Linked DNA regions of Homo sapiens: all the other regions are linked to region 4. Evidence: promoter capture Hi-C in human tissues and cell types (Jung and others, 2019). All regions are on one chromosome and are shown on one strand. The core of a region is centred on a gene start or on the middle of the fragment in contact, and the rest is flanking DNA. Distances in the headings are between cores, read along the strand shown. Region 1 overlaps PITPNC1 (phosphatidylinositol transfer protein cytoplasmic 1). Region 2 overlaps BPTF (bromodomain PHD finger transcription factor). Region 3 overlaps HELZ (helicase with zinc finger). Region 4 holds the start of NOL11 (nucleolar protein 11). Region 5 overlaps PSMD12 (proteasome 26S subunit, non-ATPase 12). Region 6 overlaps HELZ (helicase with zinc finger).

What was found. Contacts are between HindIII fragments. The study calls those that stand out against the background at their distance.
Region 1: a fragment that was not itself captured here is called in contact with the fragment with the promoter of NOL11 in region 4 in 1 of the 25 tissues and cell types used here (mesendoderm cells).
Region 2: a fragment that was not itself captured here is called in contact with the fragment with the promoter of NOL11 in region 4 in 1 of the 25 tissues and cell types used here (lymphoblastoid cells).
Region 3: a fragment that was not itself captured here is called in contact with the fragment with the promoter of NOL11 in region 4 in 1 of the 25 tissues and cell types used here (mesendoderm cells).
Region 5: a contact is called between a fragment that was not itself captured here and the fragment with the promoter of NOL11 in region 4, in 1 of the 25 tissues and cell types used here (mesendoderm cells).
Region 6: a fragment that was not itself captured here is called in contact with the fragment with the promoter of NOL11 in region 4 in 1 of the 25 tissues and cell types used here (hippocampus).

What each region holds. Positions count from the first base shown.
Region 1 is chr17:67,427,867-67,431,737 of GRCh38, forward strand. The region is part of intron 1 of PITPNC1 (phosphatidylinositol transfer protein cytoplasmic 1); the gene reads left to right. Among named protein-coding and RNA genes, the nearest start is that of MIR548AA2, 42 kb to the right of the region's middle. The HindIII fragment of the contact is 8,731 bases long and covers 1-3,871 here.
Region 2 is chr17:67,981,372-67,985,128 of GRCh38, forward strand. BPTF (bromodomain PHD finger transcription factor) reads left to right here. Exons shown (of 28, transcript NM_182641.4): 28 at 881-3,007. The coding sequence ends at 917. Among named protein-coding and RNA genes, the nearest start is that of C17orf58, 13 kb to the right of the region's middle. The HindIII fragment of the contact is 8,005 bases long and covers 1-3,757 here.
Region 3 is chr17:67,229,726-67,233,779 of GRCh38, forward strand. The region is part of intron 3 of HELZ (helicase with zinc finger); the gene reads right to left. Among named protein-coding and RNA genes, the nearest start is that of HELZ-AS1, 13 kb to the right of the region's middle. The HindIII fragment of the contact is 5,838 bases long and covers 1-4,054 here.
Region 4 is chr17:67,715,153-67,719,185 of GRCh38, forward strand. NOL11 (nucleolar protein 11) reads left to right here and starts at 2,784. Exons shown (of 18, transcript NM_015462.5): 1 at 2,784-2,936. The coding sequence starts at 2,796. LOC101928045 (a long non-coding RNA gene) reads right to left here and starts at 2,526. Exons shown (of 4, transcript NR_188294.1): 1 at 2,490-2,526. RefSeq lists enhancers at 2,695-2,774, 2,845-3,034, 3,957-4,033 and a silencer at 3,305-3,394. The HindIII fragment of the contact is 26,229 bases long and covers 1-4,033 here.
Region 5 is chr17:67,337,773-67,341,409 of GRCh38, forward strand. It overlaps PSMD12 (proteasome 26S subunit, non-ATPase 12), which reads right to left. Exons shown (of 11, transcript NM_002816.5): 11 at 144-3,280. The coding sequence ends at 3,071. Among named protein-coding and RNA genes, the nearest start is that of PSMD12, 27 kb to the right of the region's middle. The HindIII fragment of the contact is 5,273 bases long and covers 1-3,637 here.
Region 6 is chr17:67,207,186-67,211,203 of GRCh38, forward strand. All of the region lies in intron 5 of HELZ (helicase with zinc finger), which reads right to left. Among named protein-coding and RNA genes, the nearest start is that of HELZ-AS1, 36 kb to the right of the region's middle. The HindIII fragment of the contact is 5,627 bases long and covers 1-4,018 here.

The sequences.
Region 1 (3,871 bases), core at 218-2,717, 290 kb before region 4:
TATGATCAGAGAGATTGATGGATACCTAAGTGTCTGAAATGATAATAGTTCATCTTGTCTAAGGGCATTCCCCCATTTGTGGCACATTGTCCTTGACGATCAGTCTTCTATTTATTTTATTATTTTATTTTTTACAGATGGGGTTCTCGATGTGTTGCCCACGCTAGAGTGCAGTGACTGTTCACAGGCAACATCATTGCACACTGCAGGCTTGAACTCCTGGGCTCAAGCAATCCTCCTGCCTCAGCTTCTTGAGTGGCTGGCACTACAGGCATCCACCACTGTGCCAGGCTCAGTCTTCTATTTAAATAATGCTGCTACTTTAGAGGGTTTAGGAATATTTAGTGTTTACAGCTAGTGTCTCTGTAATATGAAAACATACTGTGCCTTGGCTGGGTGTGGTGGCTCATGTCTGTAATCCCAGGAATTTGGGAGGCCGAGGTGAGAGGATCACTTGAGCCCAGGAGTTCGAGACCAACTTGGGCAACATAATGCCCATCTTTTTAAAAAATAAAAAACAAAAATTAGCAGGGCATCATGGTGCACACCTATAGTCCTAGCTAATCGAGAGGCTAAGGTGGGAGGATTCCTTGAGCCCAGGAGGATGAGGCTGCAGAAATCGCACTACTGCACTTCAGCCTGGGCAACAGAGTGAGACCCTATCTCAAAAAGAAAAAAAAAAAAAAGAAAGAAAGAAAACATACTGCGCCTAGCAATACAAATAGTGACCTGCGGGTAATGAGATTATAGATGATTTTAAACATTCTTCTTGATAATTTTCCTGTGTTTTACAAATATTTAATAATGAATATGTACTACTCTAAGAAAAACAGTACAAAGGTTTTCAAAGTTTTTTGACAGTCATTTACCTGCAGTAAGTACGTTATACATCCCAACCCCATATAAACTAGCATTTATGTATTTATAAACTTAAAACAAACATTAGTTAACCATTTTTTTCTACTTGTCTTGCTTTTTTTTTTTTTTTTTTTGAGACGGAGTCTCGCTCTGTCACCCAGGCTAAAGTGCAGTGGTGTGATCTCGGCTCACTGCAACCTCTGCCTCCCGGGTTCAAGCGATTCTCCTGCCTCAGCCTCCCGAGTAGCTGGGATTACAGGCATAGTGCCACCACGCCTGGCTAATTTTGTATTTTTAGTAGAGACGGGGTTTCTCCATGTTGGTCAGGCTGGTCTCGAACTCCCGACCTCAGGTGATCCACCTGCCTTGGCCTCCCAAAGTGCTGGGATTACAGGCATGAGCCACCACGCCCGGCTTTTTTACCTACTTGTCTTTACCTCCTGATGTTTTCTGTTTTTCTATTCTATTTTATCAAAGAAGGAAGAAAGAAAAAAAGAAAGAAGAATATTCATGTATTGACCAGGTAAAATGATTTCATGAACCACTGATGGGTAAATTGAAAGCTAGTGATTATAGGACAGTGGTTGCCAGTCTTGTATTTCATGGGTCAGTAAAATTTAAAAGAAATTTTGGGGATTGATGTAAGATCATCTGTTTTTCATGTTGCAAAGTAAGGATGTTTTAAAACAAGGTAGCTGGGCGCAGTGGCTCATACCCGTAACCCCAGCACTTTGGGAGGCCAAGGCAGGTGGATCATCTGAGGTCAGGAATTGAGACCAACCTGGCCATCATGGTGAAACCCCATCTCTACTAAAATTACAAAATTAGCTGGGCGTGGTGGCGATTGCCTATAATCGTAGCTACTCAGGAGGCTGAGGCAGGAGAATCACTTGAACCTGGGAGGCGGAGGTTGCAGTGAGCTGAGATCGTGCCACTGCACTCCAGCCTGGATGAAAGAGCAAAACTCTGTTTCAAAAAAAAAAAAACTTACAAAGTAATTATTTCTACCACCATTATTCTTTTATTCATTTGTCATTTAAAATCTTGTTTTTATGAATTTTATGATTTGAGAGAATTTTCATGTCAAAATATCCTTTCTTTTCTGAAAGAATATTTTAGCATTAAATATTAGAAGGAATACAATTTCAGTAGTTATGTGATGAATAAATTTAGCTTTCTGAAAACAGACCGCACTTGCTTTGTTTTTTCCATTTGGCAATGAACCTGTGCACTAGCATTTAGGAATCATTTAGGAATTATCAGTGTAGTGGAAACAGCCTTGCTTTGAAACAACACAATTTTACTTCCAGTTCTGAATCATTTAATTTTTCTGAACTTCTTTTTACCCATCTGCAAAAGAGGAATCTCAGAGGTATAGCAATAAGGTTTATAAAGGGTTTAAGACAGTTCTGAATGCGCAGGAGTTTATAGATGGTAACGTCTTTTCTCTGGATCATTAATTCTCCTTACTACTCTGTGATTTTAAAAACTTAGAATGTTGGCTAGTGTGGTGGCTCATGCCAGTAATCCCAGCACTTTGGGAGGCTGAGGTGGGAGGGTCACTTGAGGTCAGGAGTTCAAGACCAGCCTGGCCAACGTGGTGAATCCCTGTCTCTACTAAGACACAAAAAAATTAGTCTATAATCCCAGCTACTTGGGAGGCTGAGGCAGGAGGATCGCTTGAACTCGGGAGGTGGAGGTTGCAGTGAGCTGAGATCATGCCACTGCACTCGAGCCTCTGTGACAGAACAAGACTCTGTCTCAAAAACAAAAACAAAAACAAACTTAGAATGTTGGCCAGTGTGGTGGCTCATGCCTATAATCCCAGTGCTCTAGGAGGCAGAATGCTCTAGAGGGTGGAAGCGGGAGGATTGCTTGAGGTCAGGAGTTTGAAACCAGCCTAGGCAAGGTAGTGAGACCTCTGTCTCTAAACAACAACAACAAAACAGCTGGGCGTGGTGGTGCACACCTGTCGTCCCAGCTACTTGGGAGGCTGAGGTGGGAGGATCAGTTGAGGCCGGGAGTTCAAGATCAGCCTGGGCAACATAGTGAGACCCTGTCTCTACCAAAAAAAAAAAAATTAGACATATGCAGTGGCATGTGTCTGTAGTCCCAGCTGCTCAGGAGGCTGAGGTGGGAGGATCCCTTGGGCCCAGGAAGGTTGCAGTGAGAAATGATCACACCACTGCACTCCAGCCTGTGTGACAAAGCAAGACCCCATCTCTTAAAAACAAAACCAAACCACACAACAACTTGGAATGTTGAAAGAAGTTCATTATGTGTTTCCATTTTATGATGAACTATTTCTTTAATTTTTACTCTTTTTAGTTACTGTTTCTTTTTTTTTTTTTTGCGATGGAATATTGCTCTGTCGCCCAGGCCGGAGTGCAGTGGCGTGATCTTGGCTCACTGCAAGCTCCACCTCCCGGGTTCAAGCGATTCTCATGCTTCAGCCTCCCGAGTAGCTGGGACTATAGGCGCCCACCACCACACCCAGCTAATTTTTGTATTTTTAGTAGAGACGGGATTTCACCATGTTGACCAGGCTGGTCTCAAACTCCTGACCTTAAGTGATCCATCCGCCTCAGCATCCCAAAGTGCTGGGATTACAGAGTGAGCCACCGCACCTGGCCTCATGTCTTGTCTTACCTACGGCTTTCCCCCTCTTTCTGCGTTTTCTCCACCCTTTACCGCTGAGTCAGCCTCTGTATACCATTATTCATGATGGGAACTCAGCTTGTCTGACAGTTGGTTTTAAGGCACAATTAGAAAATATTCCTTGATAGTACAATGAGTTTGCAGTTTTTAAGTTGTGGTTTTGGCCAGAGATATTAATAAGGGTTTGGACGTTGAGTGGAATACTAAGAATAAGAAAGGGGATGTGCTTAAAATACATCTCATGTGCCTTCTGTTTAATTACACGGTAATTTGTAAAAGAGACTGGTTTCTGTGGCCTTGAATACTAATATAGACTTTCCCTCACCACAGCTTATCTTCGAGTCATAAACACAGA
Region 2 (3,757 bases), core at 278-2,777, 260 kb after region 4:
TTTCATTACTGCACTTTGTTATAATTCATCATTTATACCATCCATATTCTTTCTTTTCTTACAGATTGTGATATCTTTAGTCTGAATTTTTAACTGGAATCAGAACTGGATGTTGGGGTCACTCTTTGTTTTATTGTACCTCGTGATTACCTAATTCAAAATTGCCCCCCAAAAAGTCAGATTAGTTAATATAATTTTTTAATGTTAAAGATGTATCGTGGTAAAAAATTTACTCTAGCAGCCATGTTGAACAATGTATTTAAAAATTGTAAACTCTTGGAATACTGTATTTATCTGCTATTTCAATATAAAGTCCTTTGACTTAGTCCTGGTAACTGTACAGTAATTTGGTTTACTAATGAAAGTTGTGAATAAAACTGTGAAACTAGAAGGGAGACTTTCTGGACTTTAATAGAAAAATGTGATTTTAAGATTGCTTTTTCTTTTGTTTTAGCGTAATTTTTCCCTTTATATTCCCCTCATCAATGTAAATAAACACACACACACACACACACACACACACACACACACACCTTTCACCACAATGGTAATGCTTCTGTAAATGCCTCTATTTGTCCAGTTGGCTGAAAATGTTGTAATCTTTATTAGACAAATATATATATATATATATATATATATATATATATATATATTTAAATATTGGCTTTTTCCAGTGAGCTATTATGTTTAGTGTACAGTGAAAAGTTTTAATATTATAGGTTAAAATTTTCTTAATCGTTCTTTTCTATTCGCTTGCCAAGGGTGAATGAAAGAACATGGCTGCTTCTCCCAGACTGACTGACCTTGGCATCCGCATAAAGCATCATTGTTTTCAAAAATGAAGGGTGCTTAATTGTTCCCTTTTTTCTATATTCTGTAGGTCTCATAACAACAAACTGCAGTCTACAGCTTCTTAAAGTTCAGCGTGTTAACCTAACATAAAACACAGCAAGAATCTGGTTGTCTGAACTATTTTAAATTAAGGAGCCAGATGTTTTTAGTCAGGCTATCCTGACAAGACTTGACCTAAACTTCGTTTTTATTGGTCATAACAGTCCAATTATATTCTTGGCCAATTTTGTCCAACGGACAAGAAAAAAGCAAAGTCAACGACACCATTATCTTGTCAAGATCAGATGGTTTTACTATTGTGGCAGAAGCGAGAAAACTTTGTTTATTGAAAAAAAAAGAAAAAGAAAGCAAGAAAAAAAGATACTATGGGGTCAAGTGTAACTCCATGGAAATGCCACGTCTGCTCTTCAGTGAAGAAGCTGGTTTAGAGTCTCACAGAAAACTTTTGACTGTATTTATTTATTGTTGCAAAAAAGACGCTTTTTTATTGCTGCCCTCATTTGTCAGCTAATTATTTTTTCTTATAAAATCCAGCCCCGGTTACATATAATCATCTGTATCTTATCATGATTCCTGTAGGTAAAAGTACAAGACGACCTCTAGATGTCTTTTCTTTCTATGAAAGGAGCTGCTATGTACACATGTGCACACACACACAACTGGGAATCAACAATGAGTTTATTGTTCATGGTAGATTAAAATTAAGCTTGCATAAAGGTTGGGCTAAGTGGTCCTGGACTACAGACTCTGTTGCCTTGAATATAACAGTACAATTTGTCAATTACTCTGCACCAGGCTAAAATGAGTAAAATCTATTTGAAGGTATCTTGTTTGTAAACATTTGTCAGATTCTAATTTTTTTCTTTTGTATTAAAATTCAACTATGGATGTATATGAAACAAAATAAATGGAGATAATTTTTCTCCCACAGACAGAGGTGTCTTTGAATGTGCGCTAATGATTATCTGTAAGCCTTTGTGGGGAGGGAGGCCTGCAAGGTCATGAAAGGCAGAAGAGTCTAATTGTGCCTGGATTTCTCCAGGACAGCAGTGGCCCCTCGTTTTATCATTCCCAGTCCATTGTCATCACGTCAGAGAAAAATCTTCAGGGGTGCTAATCCTGTTGCATCAGTTGATCATACTAACGAGAACGGTAATGCGACAAGATACACATTGCCTTCATCTGTACATTCTGTGATACCAGGCAAATTACCAATTACACACAGCTACTTATATTTTATGAAGGGCATTTTTTAGATGACCTCATCCTCTGTGTTATTTGTTGATTGGGTTTGTTTTCTGTTTGTTGGTTTGTTTGTTTCTTCCACGTAAGGAAAAGTAGTGTAAACAGTAGCGAGAAAATGGAAACCACAGAGGAAGATGTATTTTGCATGTTTTTCCTTTCAGTGTTCTTACACGTTGTATCACTGCATTGTGGTAATAGCTTCTATAAAATCTGCCATAGTTGGATTATGCAGCTTTGCAAAAATTTTTACTAGATTTTGCACTAACTCATATTAGCTTTGTCCTACCAACTTCTGGAATTTATCTAATTATTGTTTTTCAAAGTTTCTTTCCTTTTAATGTTTCCCTGCTATGCAAAACCTTTCCCAGACCTCAGTTTCTTAAAAGAAAGATGTTGCTACAGTTCCCGATTCTTTCTTATTACAGGCTCAGGTGTACAGGTTATTCTGGGTTAATTTTATCTAATGAAGCCCATTCCTTTTTGTACATAAAGATGTCACTTAAACTTATGCTTACAAACTAAAGACTAATCGCTCAATATGAAAACATGAAAAAATTTTTGCTTAAAGTATTAAGATGGAAGTAGTTAAATATGGGTTATTTTGTCCTTTTACTTTTTTAAAAAATGTTACATATTGTATGCACTGTGCTGATGCAAGAATTCTACATTTTAATGAGTTATAAAATTATTCTGCATCTCATCACGTCACAGTATTTCTGTACTATTTATTCATATATATAAATATATATGGGCTTAATCATTTAAAATTTGTTGCAGCAAGAACTTTCCTACCTGTAGGCAATAGATTGCTATGTTTTTAACAAATTGTGGCAAATTCTAAACAGCAATTCTTTTGTACGTAATAGGACATTTCATCCTAGAAAAATAAAGTAATGTTTTTGACATTGGATTTGGTGCAGTTTCTAATGAAGCAATGGTTGGTTGGTTAATATGTTTTCTATAGCTGTTAGCCTTGCCAAATTGTACAAAAAGGATAAATTTTATGGAAATCTGAAACCAGGAAGATGTTAATTTCATATGTGTATTTAACGGTATAAAGTGTTGTATAGTTTCTATCACCATACAAATACATAGACATTTTATAGTTTCATCAACTACAGAGCTTTAGTCCTTCAGAAGTAATTTTTGAAAAACATACTTCTTTTTTTTTTTTTTTGAGATGGAGTTTCACTGTTGTTGCCCAGTCTGGAGTGCAATGATGCCATCTCGGCTCACCACAACCTCTGCCTCCCGGGTTCAAGCAATTCTCCTGCCTCAGCCTCCCAAGTAACTGGGATTACAGGCATGCGCCACCACGCCTGGCTAATTTTGTATTTTTAGTAGAGACAGGGTTTCTCCATGTTGGTCAGGCTGGTCTCGAACTCCCGATCCCAGGTGATCCGCCTGCCTCGGCCTCCCAAAGTGCTGGGATTATAGACATGAGCCACCACGCCTGGCCTGAAAACCATACATTCTTATAGAACATAATGAATTCCAAAAGCTGCTTTTCTGTGACAAGCAGAAATCTTTGACAAGCTTCTGCTATTCAGAAAGATCTACATAATACAGCTATTTTGCTTCCAATAATTCAGGCAGTAAACTGTACATTTGTGATATTCTTAGGATGTTTCTACCCCAGGCCTTGGGCTTATAAATACAT
Region 3 (4,054 bases), core at 1,292-3,791, 490 kb before region 4:
CATTTTTCCAAAACTGGAATCTATATAGTCCTATAGTATACACAGGCAAAATAGTCTGCAAAGTAGTTTTACTCATTGTACTGTACTTAATATTCAGCCAGACTTGCATTTTTCTCTAAAACATAAAATCACTGAGTATGCAAGAAGCATTAGAAGAGAGACTAAGCCTACAGAGAAGAAAACTAGAAACTAAGATCATCAACCGTGGTCTCTTTTGAATAATCATTTTCATAAAGAGGTAAATTCTCTTAAATTTTAGAATAAGTGGAATTTAGTAGAGTATAGAATGTTTTAAATACATAAAAGAAATATCCTGATGGGCCTTCTGCCATCTGTTTTAATGACTGAGATAAACTGAATTTTCTAAAAATTATATCAACAGCTAAAATTGAGATTTTTTTTCCATCTATTACTTTGATTTTTCCTGATCCATTTTTCAGGGTTTCCAGCAATTCTGGAGCTAGCCTTCTTAGTTTCAAGAATTCCAAATTGTTTCTTGAAGAGTTTGAGCCTCTTCCCAAATCACTTAACATGCTTATTAATTTAAAAGATATGAAGAAACAAAAAACCCATACTTAAGAAGCAAGCAAGGCTGGGCACAGTGGCTCATGCCTGTAATCCCAGCACTTTGGGAGGCCGAGGCAGGCGGATCACGAGGTCAAGAGATGGAGACCATCCTGGCCAACATGGTGAAACCCTGTCTCTACTAAAAACACAAAAAATTAGCTGGGGTTGGTGGTGCATTCCTGTAATCCCAGCTACTTGGGAAGCTGAGGCAGGAGAATCGCTTGAACCTGGGAGGCAGAGGTTGCAGTGAGCTAAGATCGCGGCATTGTACTCCAGCCTGGTGGCAGAGTGAGACTCCATCTCAAAAAAAAAAAAAAAAAAGCAAGCAAATTATACTAAAAGGCTGACTTCTAGAAAAGGTTACTGCTTGCCAAGAAAATTATATTACTATAAAACATTGTCTATTCTTTTTGTTTCTTGATTTTTGCTTCCAGATTATCTGTGTAGACACAGAATCACATTACTACTACCACCAGTACTATCACAGCCCCTTAAAAGCCATCTTCAATTTACCAACAGATTATGTTCTAATGCTGTATTTTCAAATCAGACTTTAAAACTGAGAACAGAGTTTTCTATACAGTGTTAACAATAAGGTTACTGGGAAGATTTAAAGTGACAAAAGCAAGTTACAAAATAATATATATGGTATAATCCCATTTTGTAAGTAAAAAACAGATTATAAATAATGGTCATCTCATTTTTGTGAAATATGTAAGTATTGAATATTTTGCATAAGAAAATCAGGAAGGATAAGACACAGTCTAATCATGAAGAAAATACCAGAGAAACCCAAATTGAGGACCATTCTATTAAATATCCAAATAGTACTCCTGAAAACTGTCATGAAAAACAAAGTCTGAGAGGCTATCACAGCCCAAAAAAGACTAAGAAGACAAAACTGCTACATTCATTGCAGGATTCTGGATAGATTCTGGAACAGAAAAAGGGTATTAGTGGGAAAACTGGTGAAATCCAAATAAAGTCTAAAAATTAGTTAATAGAAATGTACCAACAATGGCTGGGTGTGGTGGCTCACGCATGTAATCCCAGCACTTTGGGAGGCCAAGCCAAGTGGATCACAAGGTCAGGAGATCGAGACCATCCTGGCTAACATGGTGAAACCCCATCTCTACTAAAAATGGAAACAATTAGCCAGGCGTGGTGGCAGGCGCCTGTAGTCCTAGCTACTCGGGAGGTTGAGGAAGGAGAATGGCGTGAACCCGGGAGGCGGAGCTTGCAGTGAGCCGAGATCATGCCACTGAACTCCACCCTGGGTGACAGAGCCAGACTCTGTCGGAAAAAAAAAAAAAAAAAGAAATGTACCAACAATGGTTTCTTACATTTGACAAACGTGCCGTGGAAACCTAAGACATTAACAATGGGGAAAACTGGGTAAAGAGTTTATGAGAACTCTGACCTATACTTCTTAATTTTCTGTAAATCTAAAATTATTACAAAATGAAAAGTTTATTACAGGCCAGGTGCGGTGGCTCACACCTGTAATCCTAGCACTTTGGGAGGCGGAGATGGGTGGATCACCTGAGATCAGGAGTTCAAGACCAGCCTGGCCGATATGGTGAAACCCTGTCTCTACTAAAAATACAAAACTTAACCAGGCGTGGTGGCAGGCGCCTGTAATCCCAGCTACTCAGGAGGCTGAGGCAGGAGAATTGCTTGAACTCGGGAGGGGGAAGTTGCAGTGAGCCAAGATCACACCATTGTACTCTAGCCTGGGACAAAGAGCAAGACTCCATCTCAAAAAAAAAAAAAAAAAAAAAAAGTTTACTACAAAAATAAAACTGGGTATCTCCAGGTGATGCTATTACAGCTTTTTTATTCATCTGTATTTTATAATTTTTTTTTTTCGAGATAGAGCCTCGCTCTGTCACCCAGGCTAGAGTGCAGTGGCACAATCTCAGCTCACTGCAACCTCCGCCTCCCAGGTTCAAGCGATTCTCCTTCCTCAACCTCCTGAGTAGCTGAGATTACAGGCACACACCACCATAACCGGCTATGCCCGGCTAATTTTTGTATTTTTAGTAGAGACGGGGTTTCACCATGTCGGCCAGGCCGGTCTCCAACTCTTGACCTCATGATCCGCCCGCCTCAGCCTCCCAAAATGTTGGGATTACAGGCGTGAGCCCCTGTGTCTGGCATTGTATTTTAAAATTTTTAACAAGCAATAAGTTTTCATTGTCATGGAAAACAAGACTTAGTCCCAGAAGACTTAAGTTAATTCGCCCAAAGACACAAAATTGCGGCAGCATAGGAATTCTGGAATTAATTCTCTTTACTCTAGACCCCATGCAGAGACCTAAGAACATACCCTATTAAACTTTTTGACTCTTCTTACTTGCTAATACACAAAATTTAAGGTCACCAGATTACTTTTGCTTCACTATAATTGATGCAGAGGGAGGAAACAGATGAAACAATACTGAGAGCTGTTGAAGTTGGACAATGGGTACATGGGCATTGATTACACTCTTCTTTCTACTTTTGTATGTCTGAAAATGTCCATAATAAAAAACTTTTAATTAAAAAATAACCAGCCTGGGCTTGGCGCAGTGGCTCACGCCTGTAATCCCAGCACTTTGGGAGGCCAAGGTAGGTGGATCACTTGAGTTCAGGAGTTCGAGATCAGACTGGCCAACTGAGTGAAACCCTGTCTCTACTACAAATACAAAAATTAGCTGGGCATGGTGGCACATGACTGTAATCCCAGCTACTGGGAAGGCTGAGGCAGGAGAATTGCTCGAACCTGGGAGGCAGAGGTTGCAGTGAGTCGAGATCGAGCCATTGCACTCCAGCTTAGGCGAAGAAGCGAGACTCCGTCTCAAAAAAATAAAATAAACATAACCAGCCTGGCCAACATGGTGAAACCCCATATCCACTAAAAACACAAAAATTAGCCGGGTGTGATGGCATGCCCCTGTGATCCCAGCTACTTGGGAAGCTGAGGTGGGAGAATCGCTTAAACCTGGGATGCGGAGGCTGCAGTGAGCTGAGATCGCACCACTGCACTCCAGGCTGGGTGACAGAGCAAGACCCTGTCTCAAAAAATTTAAAAATAAAATTAAAAGATAGAAAATAAAGTCCTCACTCCCCAACATAACTATGGCACTTCCTACTCTCTATTGAGCACTGCTGCCTGGGTGAGGAGACACCACCGCTAAGAACCTTCAGCATTTCTCAGTGTGAAGCAGAGAGAAAAGTCATGGACTGGGAATCTTGAAGCTTCCATGTTGGTTCTACTTTAACTAATTGTGAGACCTCACTGAGTCCTCTTAACTTTTCAGGGCCCTAAACTTCCTTAGCTGTTGCCCCAATAATCTCTGAAGTTCCTTCTAGGATTAAAATTCTGATTTCAACTTTCTACAAGCTCCTTAAACTCAACACAATCAAAACCAAATTCATCTTCATTCTAAACTCCTAAGAGCCATTCTCCCTCCTGACTTCCCTATTCTTTTTTTTCTTTAATGTC
Region 4 (4,033 bases), core at 1,534-4,033:
TAGCTTAGGCTTGGTTGCAGAAGACTCCTAGTTCCCTTATTATAGCTGGTGTCCTTTCCAGAAAGGATTGTAATCTCCTTTAATAGTTTACCAAACTTAGACTCAAATTTACAGACGAATATGCAAGCACAGTTCCAGCTTTCTCAACCAGGAAGTCTTACTTTCCCTTAATGGATCAAGTCCACGTTCTATTTATTATCCTAGCTTGCAACGTTAAGTGTGACTTATTCAACAAACGTGTATTAAGCTCTTTGTATGGATCACAGACAATTGCTGGTGCCATGAATACGAAAATGTGAAGTGGCCGGGCGCGGTGGCTCAGGCCTGTAATCCCAGCACTTTGGGAGGCTGAGGCGGGTGGATCACCTGAGGTCAGGAGTTCGAGACCAACCTGGCCAACATGGTGAAACCCCGTCTCTACTAAAAATACAAAAATTAGCCAGGTGTGGGGTGGGTGCCTCTAATCCCAGCTACTCGGGAGGCTGAGACAGGAGAATCGCTTGAACCCGGGGGGCAGAGGTTGCAGGTTGCAGAGAGCCGAGATTGTGCCATTGCACTCCAGCCTTCGTGACAAGAGTGAACCTCTGTCTCAAAAAAGAAAAAAAAAGGCTGGGCGCAGTGGCTCACGCCTGTAATCCCAGCACTTTGGGAGGCCGAGGCGGGCGAATCACGAGGTCAGGGGATCGAGACCATCCTGGCTAACAAGGTGAAACCCTGTCTCTACTAAAAATACAAACAAGTCAGCCGGGCATGGTGGCGGGCGCCTGTAGTCCCAGCTCAGGAGGCTGAGGCAGGGGAATGGCGTGAACCCGGGGCGCAGAGCTTGCAGTGAGCCGAGATTGCGCCACTGCACTCCAGCCTGGGCTACAGTGCAAGACTCCGCCTCAAAAAAGAAAAAAGAAAGAAAGAAAGAAAAGCCTTGCTACTGATGGTGCCCTCATCACCTCTCACCTGGTAACTACAATAACTGCGATAGACTTCTAGGGAATCTCCCTGTTGGTGCCCCAGGCGCACTTGCTACTGAGAATGCTCTTAGTTAACTGCATGATCGCTCCCTCCCCTAGTTAACTGCATGATCGCTCCCTCCCCTCCTTCATGCCATCCTCAAAAGATACCCTTGGGCCAGGCACTGTGGCTCTGTAATCCCAGCACTCTAGGAGGCCAAGGGGGGAGGGTCATTTCAGCCCAGGAATTCAAGGTCAGCTTGGGCAATACGGTGAAACCCCATCTTTACAAAAAATACAAAAATTAGCCGGGCATGGTGGTGCATGTCTGTAGTCCCAGGTACTCGGGAGGCTGAGGTGGGAGGATAGCTTAAATCCGGGAAGCAGAGATTGCAGTGAGTTGAGACTGCGTCACTCCAGCCTGGGCGACAGAGCAAGACCCTGTCTCAAAAAAAAAAAAAAAAAAAAAAAGACATCCTCTCAAGGAGGCCTGTGGTCATCCTAGTGAAAATTTCACATACACAGACCACTCCTTCCTCCCCCACACACCCACGCTTTATCTCTCCCTTCTGAGTTTAATGTTTTTCTTCTTACCACCTATCACAAAGTAAGTTATGAAGCATAATAATAAACTATATCCTCTTGATCTCACAACCCAGCCTAAAAATTAAAAGATTATCAGAGTTCAAGATCACCTTGGGCAACAAAGCAAGACTCCATGTCTGCAAAAAATACAAAAATTAGCCGGGCGTGGTGATGGATGCCTGTAGTCCCAGTTATTCGGGAGGCTGAAGCAGGAGGATTGCTTTATTTAGCCCAAGAGTTAGAGGCTGCAGTGAGCCATGATAATGCCACTACTTTTGAACAACAAAAGACCTATTAGCATTATAAAAATAGACTGCATTTGATTCCTTCACAGTAGCTGGATATTCTCCTTTTGCCCATGTCGTCATGTTGGGGCAATGAGAAACAACACACATGGCGATCTGGTGGATGCTTAAATCTAAACTGAGGCACTTTGTCACACTGGGTACATTTGTTTAGTAATTGCCTATTAAATGGTTTCTCCCTAAGAACATCACAATTTATCTTTACTTATTTATTTAACATTATTGATTGAATCTGCCATGCTTATCTGAGAAACATACATTTCTCCCGGAAATAAAAACCTTGCCAAAAATCACACAGGGGACCTTCAACTTCACCTTCATCAAACTAGTCTGAATTTCCTGTAAGCTGAGGAGAGATTTTCCCCACTGGGGCTCAGAGAAGGGGAGTCAGAGAACTCAGAAGGCCTGAAAGACTGAAAAGACTGGAGATCTCTAGAGGGTTCCAAGAAACTTGGGGGGAATTAAGCATTTCACGTAGGAACAGCACGTTATTGGGAGTTTACCTACAGAGATAAATATTTTTTCTTTGGCAGATCGTTCCACAAGGCCATGGATGGAATTCCTAGGGAGTTCCCTTGCAATTAAAAAAAAAAAAATCTAGCTTATTTATATTCGACCACTCCCTAGACCCATCTACAGTCTCTCAAGTCCCCACCTAGAACAGCACGCAGCCGATTCAGGACCCAGTAAGCAGCACTTCCGCGCCTACCCTATCCCTTCCTGGAGCACATCCGGGACTCGGCGAGGCGTGGTCTCGGGAGGCGGAGTCTGACGCAAGCCGGCCCAGCCCACCTGGCTAAATTCACAGTCGCGCTCGCTCCTTCCGCCCGCCAGAGGTCGCAGGCTGCGAGAGCAGGTTCCTGGTTTGGCAAGCACTCGCCCCCTCAGGCCCGTTCATTCTCGCGAGAGAAAGCGCGAGGCCTGCCGGGAGTGAGCGCGGCCGTACTTAGGTTTGCTCAAAATGGCAGCGCTGGAGGAAGAATTCACGTTGTCTTCGGTAGTCCTGAGCGCCGGGCCTGAAGGACTCCTAGGCGTGGAGCAGAGCGACAAAACAGACCAGTTTCTAGTGACAGACAGCGGCAGGACAGTCATCCTCTATAAGGTGAAGGCAATAGGTTTGGGAGCGCCCCGACTGCCTTCTCGCCCCTTTCTGAGCGCGGAGCTCGAGCTCAAGTTTCTCACAGCTTCAGAAAGAGATCGTGGAGAAGGCTTAGCAGAGAGCCGGCTGGGCCTGTTGGGGACGCTGAGTGAGGTCTGGAATCTGGCTTGCTTGCCTTCCTGTAAAGGCATATTTCCGACTTGCAGGGGCAGAGCGTCTGAGTGCACGTGGGTTAGACTCGGAAAAGAAAGAAAACCTGTGCTTTTGCTTCGGAACTCGCGGAATTGGCCTTGCTAAGATTCCCTCCTAGGGTCTTTATTATCTTAGCCGCCCGCGGGAGGATGGAACGGAGATTGGTTGGGCGGGAGAGGATGACACTGACAGAGTGGGAATAGTGGTTTAGCCGTGTCTACACTTCACACCCCTCTCTTTGTAGGGGCGGGGACAATTTTAGAGAGTGAGGGACTTTCTTGATAGCTCGCTAAGAATCTTGCCTCCAAGTGAGTTGTCTGTTGGCATCTCTGATTCACGCTGGGAATCCTGGAGTTGAGTCCTGGGAAAATCTGCAAGCCCTGCCCCCATTTCAGCCTAAAGCCTGATAGAGAACACTTTCTAACCTTGCTTTTGGTGGTCGCATAGAAAGCAGTTACTTTTCTCTGGGCTGCTGAACATAGTTTTCCATGTTTTAAAGAAGTTAGGTATCTGCTTTGACGTTTTGAGAACAGGTTGCTAACAGCTCCCTGTGCCGTTTTGACTCTGCTAACTCTATTGGGTTTCACTTGGGATGTCAAGTAGATTTGCAGTTTTGCAGCTCCTGCATAGGAATACAATGGCAGATTGGAATTGGATAGACATGATCCCAGATGTCCCTACTTAATTTCCCATGCCGCTGTTCAGAGGCATAACTTCCCATGCAGAGGCATAATATAATCAATTTTTAAATGTACTATTGTTTTTTTAACAAAGGGTTGCTTATTTACTTATTTAGGAACTTAGTTATATTTTCATTTTAACTACCCTTTTAGAGGTTTGGCCGGACGCGGTGGTTCACGCCTGTAATCCCAGAACTTCGGGAGGCCCAGGTGGGTGGATCACTTGAG
Region 5 (3,637 bases), core at 1,101-3,600, 380 kb before region 4:
TTTGCTGTGAATCTAAAATTGCTCTAAAAATATAATAAAGTCTTAAAAGACAAAACAAAAAAGTAGGTTTAGAGAGAGATGATTTGGGGTAAAAATGAAAATTATGGCTTTTTGTTTCAGACAATGAGAACTGAAAAGAGAAGTGATCTTTTAAAGTATGAGTTTATTCTCCAGGTTTTCTTAAATACCCACAAATTAGTGTTTTTATTGCTGCTATATCCAAGAGCTGAAAACAATTTAAAATATGTACTTTTATCACATTTAACACTTACAAGAGAGAAAATGGAACTGTTTGAATTTTAAAGATGTTTTTCAGATTCAGTAACATATGGAAATTGAGGATAATCATAGAAACAGCTATTGAACTCTAAAATAAAAAAATTATATGGAAATAAAAGGTATTTCATTTGAAAAATGGCTCATCACCTCTCCTGCTGGTTAATACACTAATGACAATGAAATGGAATCAAGTGTTATCTTCTCCACATTTAAAACAAAGTGCTTCTTCTCCTGATTGCCAGCTTTAGGTCTGAAATGTAAAACAGGATTAATTGAGGTTCCGAACAACTCAAATATTTCACTATTGTACTTTATGCTAATGAATTATTTTGTAATACTAAGAAAATAAATTGGTAAATACCTCATATATTTGCTGGATTAATGTTTGACAGGAAAAAACACGAAATGGATGAACAGCTGATCGAGTCGAGTGCAATTTGGTCACTGGGACACAGTTACAAATAGCACTGAATCATAATACACAAAGAGCCTAGTGTGTGTTAAAGAAAGACGAAAGAGGAGTTGGGTGCAGTGGCTCATGCCTGTAATCCCAGCACTTTGGGCAGCCAAGGCGGGTGGATCACCTGAGGTCAGGAGTTTGAGACCAGCCCGGCCAACATGATGAAACCATCTCTACTAAAAACACAAAAATTAGCTAGGTGTGGTGGCAGGCGCCTATAATCCCAGCTACTTGGGAGGTTGAGGCAGGAGAACTGCTTGAATATGGGAGGCAAAGGTTGCAGTGAGCCGAGATCGTGACACTGCAATCCAGCCTGGGCAACAAGAGTGAAACTCCGTCTCAAAAAATATGAAAAAAATAAAGAGGAGGAACACTTGCAATCTCTATAGCAACCTATTTGGCCAAATAGTCCAGGTTTGACAAGCCCACAGGTAATGAGTCTCTAGAAAGATGAAGTTATTGAGAAGCTAGTTTCAAATTAGCTCCAATTTTATTTACATGTTAACAATACACAATTTTATCTTCTATCCTTTTCATTCAAAGGAAAATTAAAACCATACTCTGTTAGTGTGAACTTCTGTTTCTGAACTTTCCAGTTTTGTTTTTTTTTTTTTGAGACGGAGTCTCACTCTGTCACCCAGGCTGGAGTGCAATGGTGTGATCTTGGCTCACTGCAACCTCCGCCTCCTGGCTTCAAGGAATTCTCCCACCTCAGCCTCCCAAGTAACTGGGACTACAGGCACACGCCACCACGCCCGGCAAATTTTTGTATTTTTTTTAGTAGAGACAGGGTTTTGCCATGTTGGCCAGGCTAGTCTCGAAATCCTGACCTTAGATGATCCACCCGCCTTGGCCTCCCAAAGTGCTGGGATCCACTGCACCCGGCCTTTTTTGGTTAGTTTTAAAAAGATAAGTGATAGCAGATGTTGATGTTATTAGTGTGACCAATGCATTGAATTTCCAAAGAATAAAATCAGATTACTTCAGTACTGTATGTCATTATTCACAATGACTCACAGGATAAATATGACAGATATCCCACAACTGTCTTCAGTCCTGGGATCATAAAATAGGACAATTGATAATCTTCCATTAAGTGGAAAATTAATTAGGAGAAATGCCATTTCTAGAATGCTGTTTTTCTTTTTCTCTTCATTTGAATTTTTTTAAAGTAGACCTCACACTTTCTTTATTTAAGTATCATTTTAAATAACCTTCTAACATTGTTTTTTCTATTTTCTCTGAAATAAATCAAATTAAACTTGCAAAATTCGTTCACACCAATTCATCTCAGGTGTTTCTTTGACAGCAAGCTACTTTTAATTCCGTGAAAATATTTTAATACTACACCACTTACTATGAGGGTGGCCTGACGTCTTTTTGCCATTTTTTTAAAGCATTAAAAAAAATTAGGTTATCCAGTGTTCATATAATGGAACTAAAAGTTCCTACAGAGATAATGAATTTGGAACAATAATGATGTAATCAGACTTACAAGTTAAAGCCACAAATAAGCCTTATAAAAACAACTTTATGTTAAATTTAAACCCATATAAAGAAAGGGGAGAGGAAGAAGAGCAAAAAAAAAAAAAAAAAAAAAGTAGTCACTATCCCTATAGAGCGGACTTAACACCCAATAAACTGTGTCAATTATGTCAGCTGATTCTGTTGAACAACTGATCAAGTGAGAGGATGAGGGCTGAAAGCAATCAAGCTACTGTGATTGGAACCAGCCGGACTCAAAAAAAAAAAAAAAAAAGTCTACAGTTTACCAGCATACACACTCAGTCTAGACTTTCCGCCACAATATCAAAGTACAAATTCTTCACAAATCACAACTCTATCCCAAATGTTCTTGTATGCTCTATGTTGCTTTTCTATTCTACTAAATGACTGATAGCTTTACAATGAGATTTGTTTTATTTAAAAAACACTTGCCAAATCACTACCCCACAAAATGTTGAGAATCAGAGGTAACTGTAGAAAGGAAATATGTATATACTGCTTTTATTATTGGAATATGTTTGTTAGTTGAATGAAAACAAACAGTAGCTAAAAAGGTTTCAAATGATAGAAAAACATATCTGGGTAAGTTATGACACAACTTTTTGTGTATTCAGACGACAGAAATCTGTATTTTTGCACCAATTGCAAATGCAAAGTTAACAATGAACTTGGGGAACTGAAAGGTCAAAGGGAGTCTCAAACATATTCACTATTTTAAAATTTAAGACAAAGAAGCTTAGAAAAAAAACCCCAACATATACACCATTATAACAGTCTTTTTTTAATGACTTCCAATTTTAACTTTTTTCTAAAGCACTAAGACCCTTATTGTAGATTATGTATCATCTCCTCTTTGGCTATGAGATGCGTAGTTTTGTTAACCAGAGACATTAATGAGTTCAGTTTCTGAGACCAGTCATTTAATAAATTATTTGGATCCTTGGGTCTCTGGAAGTTGATAATTCCTGCTAATCTGTCTACTTTAGCAAAGATGGTCTTGTTAACTACTAGATTTGAGAGAAAGGCTTCGGACTCCTGCAAGAGAGAAAGATAAATTGGATTAAGACAGGATAAATTACAGACAATAAACAAAACTTCAGAAAAGCATTTTCTGAACTCTTCATCCAAGAATATGCAGGGGAATTCATTCTTAAGAGTTAGTAACACTCAGCTGGGTGTGGTGGCTCACACCTGTAATCCCAGCACTTTGGGAGGCTGAATTGGGTGAATCACTTGAGGTCAGGAGTTCAAGACCAGCCTGAGCAACATGGTGAAACCCCATCTCTACTAAAAATACCAAAATTAGCCAGGCATGGTGGCACACGCCTGTAGTCCCAGCTACTCAGGAGGCTGAGGCAGGAGAATCGCCTGAACCCTGGGAGGTAGAGGTTG
Region 6 (4,018 bases), core at 673-3,172, 510 kb before region 4:
ACAGGCATGAGCCACCACGCCCGGCCTTTTTTTTTTTTTTTTTTTTTTTTTTTGAGATGGAGTCTCGCTTTGTTGCCCAGGCTGGAGTGCAGTGGCATGATTAGGCTCACTGCAACCACCGCCTCCTCAGTTCAAGCGACTCTCCTGCCTCAGCCTCACCAGTAGCTGGTATTACATGCACGTGCTACCACACCTGGCTGATTTTTGCATTTTTAGTAGAGACAGGTCTTCACCATGTTGGCTAGGCTGGTCTCGAACTCCTGACCTCAGGTGATCCACTCACCTCAGTCTCCCCAAGAGCTGGGATTACAGGTGTGAGCCACTACACCCAGCCTAGGTTATTTCTTTTATCAAATCCTTAGTTACTTCTGAAGTGTTTTATTAAAGAGCTTAGCCTAATGAAGGTATTTTTTCCAAAAACTTTCCTAAAAATTTTTTTCATTACCATACAAACTAAATCCTTTAGTCAGTAATGATATAAAATCACTCACTGCTTAGATATAATCATGCTCTCAGAACTAACAATTCAGAAACTGAATTTAAAATGAAAATAAAGGCCGAGCCTATAATCCCAGCACTTTGGGAGCCTGAGGCAGGTGGATCACCTGAGTCCAGGAGTTCGAGACCAGCCTGGCCAACATGGCAAAACCCCATCTCTACTAAAAATACAAAAATTAGCCAGGCATGGCGGCGCATACCCATAATACTAGCTTCTTGGGAGGCTGACTGCTTGTACCCAGGAGGCTGAAGTTGCAGTGAGCTGAGATCACTCCACTGCACTCCAGTCTGGGCGACAGAGCAAGACCCTGTCTCAAAACAAAAACAAAAAACAGCATGGATGGATCTCAAGAGGACCATGGTGAGTGGAAAAAAGCCATCTGAAAAGGTCATATGCTATATGATTCCATTTCTATAACACTCTCAAAGTGGCAAAATTAGGGAGATGAAGAACAGATTAGTGGTTGCCAAGGGTTAGAAAAGGTAGTAAGGAAGGGTGGTTGAGTGTGACTCTAAAGGAATAGTACATTTCCTGAGAAAGAAACAACAAAAAAAGAAGTTTTTCAAAAAAAATTGTAAAAAAAAATTGTAAAAGGTAGGAGGCAGCACAAGGGAGATCTTCACGATGATGGAGCAGTTCTGTATCTTAATTGTATTCGTGGTTAAATCAGTCTACACATGATCAAAATGACACAGAATACACACATTCCTTGTACTAATGTTAATTTCCTTGTTTTGATATGGTGCCAGAGTTATGTAAGACGTAATAACTGGGGGAAAGTAGGTGAAGGGTACGTGGGACCTCTCTGTATTATCTTTGCCACTTCCTGTTAACCTATAATTATTTCAGAATAAAGAGTTTAAAATAAATACATAAAGCTTATATATATATAAATTTTTTAAAAAATAGTTTGTAACTGGATCTAACAATGAATTAAGAAATGTTGTTAAGGCTGGGTGCAGCGGTTCACATATGTAATCCCAACACTTTGGGAGGCCAAGGTAGGAGGATTGCTTGAACCCAGTAGTTCAAGACCAGCCTGGGCAACATGGCAAGACACCATTTCTACAAAACAGAAAACAAAACAAAAAAACAGAAAAAAATTAGCCGGTTGTGGTGGCATGTGCCTATAGTCCCAGCTACTTGGGAGGCTGGGGTGGGAGGATCACCTGAGCCCCAGAAGGTCATCAAAGCTGAGGTGAGCTGTGATCACACCATGGCACTCCAGCCTGGATGACAGAGTGAAACTCTGTCTCAAAAAAAAAGAAAAGAAAAAAGAAAAGAGAAGAGAAGAGAAAAGAAGAGAGGCAGGAAGGCAAAAAGGAAGGAAGGAAGGAAGGAAGGGAGGAAGGGAGGGAGGGAGGGAGGGAGGGAAGGAAGGAAAGAAGGTAGGTTGGTTGTTGAACTGCGTCTCTATTTTAAAAGCCTGGGGAATTAAAAAAAAAAAAAAACAACACTGGCAAGGAGCTTAAATACTGAAATTCTTGTCTCCACCACACTAATATTATAATTATTTTAGTGATCCTGAGGCACAATCTTTTTCATTTCTAGAATAATACAGTTCTTTTTGTGCCTGTTTTCCAAGTTTGTTAGGCTAAAGGAGATAAAAACATCTGCAAAATGCTGAAGTAGGCCGGACGCGGTGGCTCACGCCTGTAATCCCAACACTTTGGGAGGCCGAGGTGGGTGGATCACCTGAGGTCAGGAGTTCAAGACCAGCCTGACCAGCATGGTGAAACCCCGTCACTACTAAAAATACAAAAATTAGCCGGGAATGGTGGTGGGCGCCTGTAATCCCAACTACTTGGGAAGCTGAGGCAGGAGAATCGCTTGAACCCAGAAGGCAGAGGTTGCAGTGAGCTAAGATCACACCATTGTATTCCAGCCTAGGCAACAGAGCGAGACTCTGTCTCAAAAACAAAACAAAACAAAACAAAGCTGAAGTATACACAAGTAGTAGTTGAGGATAAAGCAAAGCAACATGCCCTTTCAGATCAGAAAGACTTCAGTTCAAAACCACACTTCCACTCTGGACTGGCTCTGTGCTCTTAAGCAAGTAACTTAATCTCACAAAGTCTGTTTGCTCATCTGTAAAACTGCAATGATAATACAATTTGACTAAATAACATATTTCAGAGGGCCCAACCCTGTGACAATTTTAAATAAATACTGTTAACTCATTCACTAAATATTTTTTCCAAAAAAATTTTTAACTACCATAGAAACTATTTAATCAAAACTCTTCTGAGGGCCAGGTGCAGTAGCTCACACCTGTAATCTCAACACTTTGGGAGGATGAGGCAAGAGGATCACCTGAAGCCAGGATCACTCAAGACCAGCCTGGGCAACAAAGCAAAACCCCATCTCTACAAAAAATACAAAACAAAAATTAATCAACTATGCTGGCGCACACTTTGTTGTCCCAGCTACTGGGGAGGCTGAAGCAGGAGGATCACTTGAGCTCAGGATTTCAAGGCTGTAGTGAGCTATAATCACGCCACTCTACTTCCAGTCTGGGTGACACCATGACATGCCATCTCCAAATTAACAAACAAATTCTTCTCAGAAGAAAGGTAGTTACAGATATCACTTCCTCCCCCAGAGAGAGTACAGAAGTTTCAACCAATCGCCTATCAATTTGCCTTTTCTAAAAGTCAGCCTCTTTAACAGGGGTTGCTGATTACTGAATCATTTACTTCACAGGCCAAGTCTCACAACAACAAACATCAGTAGATGACCCAAGCCCCTTTGTTTGCAATGATGACTTCTTACATTAACAAAACTCTTAGCTAGGCTTTACAAATCTTACAGCCTCATAAAAAATTTTCATTGATGTTTATGATGGTTAAGTTTAACCTACATATTACAAGTGGTACAATACTCTTAGTTGATAAGATTACGTTCTTTTGATTTTACTTTCTCCATTTACCTCATTCATTTTTTTAGTGTAAAAAAATGGCCGGGCACAGTGACTCACACCTGTAATCCTAGCACCTTGGGAGGCCAAGGCAGGCAGATCACAAGGTCAAGAGATGGAGACCATCCTGGCCAACATGGTGAAACCCTGTCTCTACTAAAAATACAAAAATTAGCTGGGCGTGGTGGCGCATGCCTGTAGTCCCAGCTACTTGGGAGGCTGAGGCAGGAGAATCGCTTGAACCCAGGAGGCAGAGGTTGCAGTGAGCTGTGATCACGCCACTGCATTCTAGCCCAGCAACAGAACAAGACTCAAAAAAAAAAGTAAGTTTCCTATATAATGACTATTCGAAAGGCAAAAATAGAACCATTATTTCATCAAAGTTTTTGTGTTATGCCAAATACAACTGATGTTCAGACAATGAAAAGTGACTTAACTACCTCACTTATCCATTGGTCGCTGGCTTGGCAATCTTCACTATCCAGAATACAACAATGAACTTGGAACTGAAACCCAGGAACTTACAAAGGTGCCCTTGAGTCCTCACTCAGAGTATGTTTACTCTTATTGAAGCAGAATTCCAACTTTAAAATTTTATAACC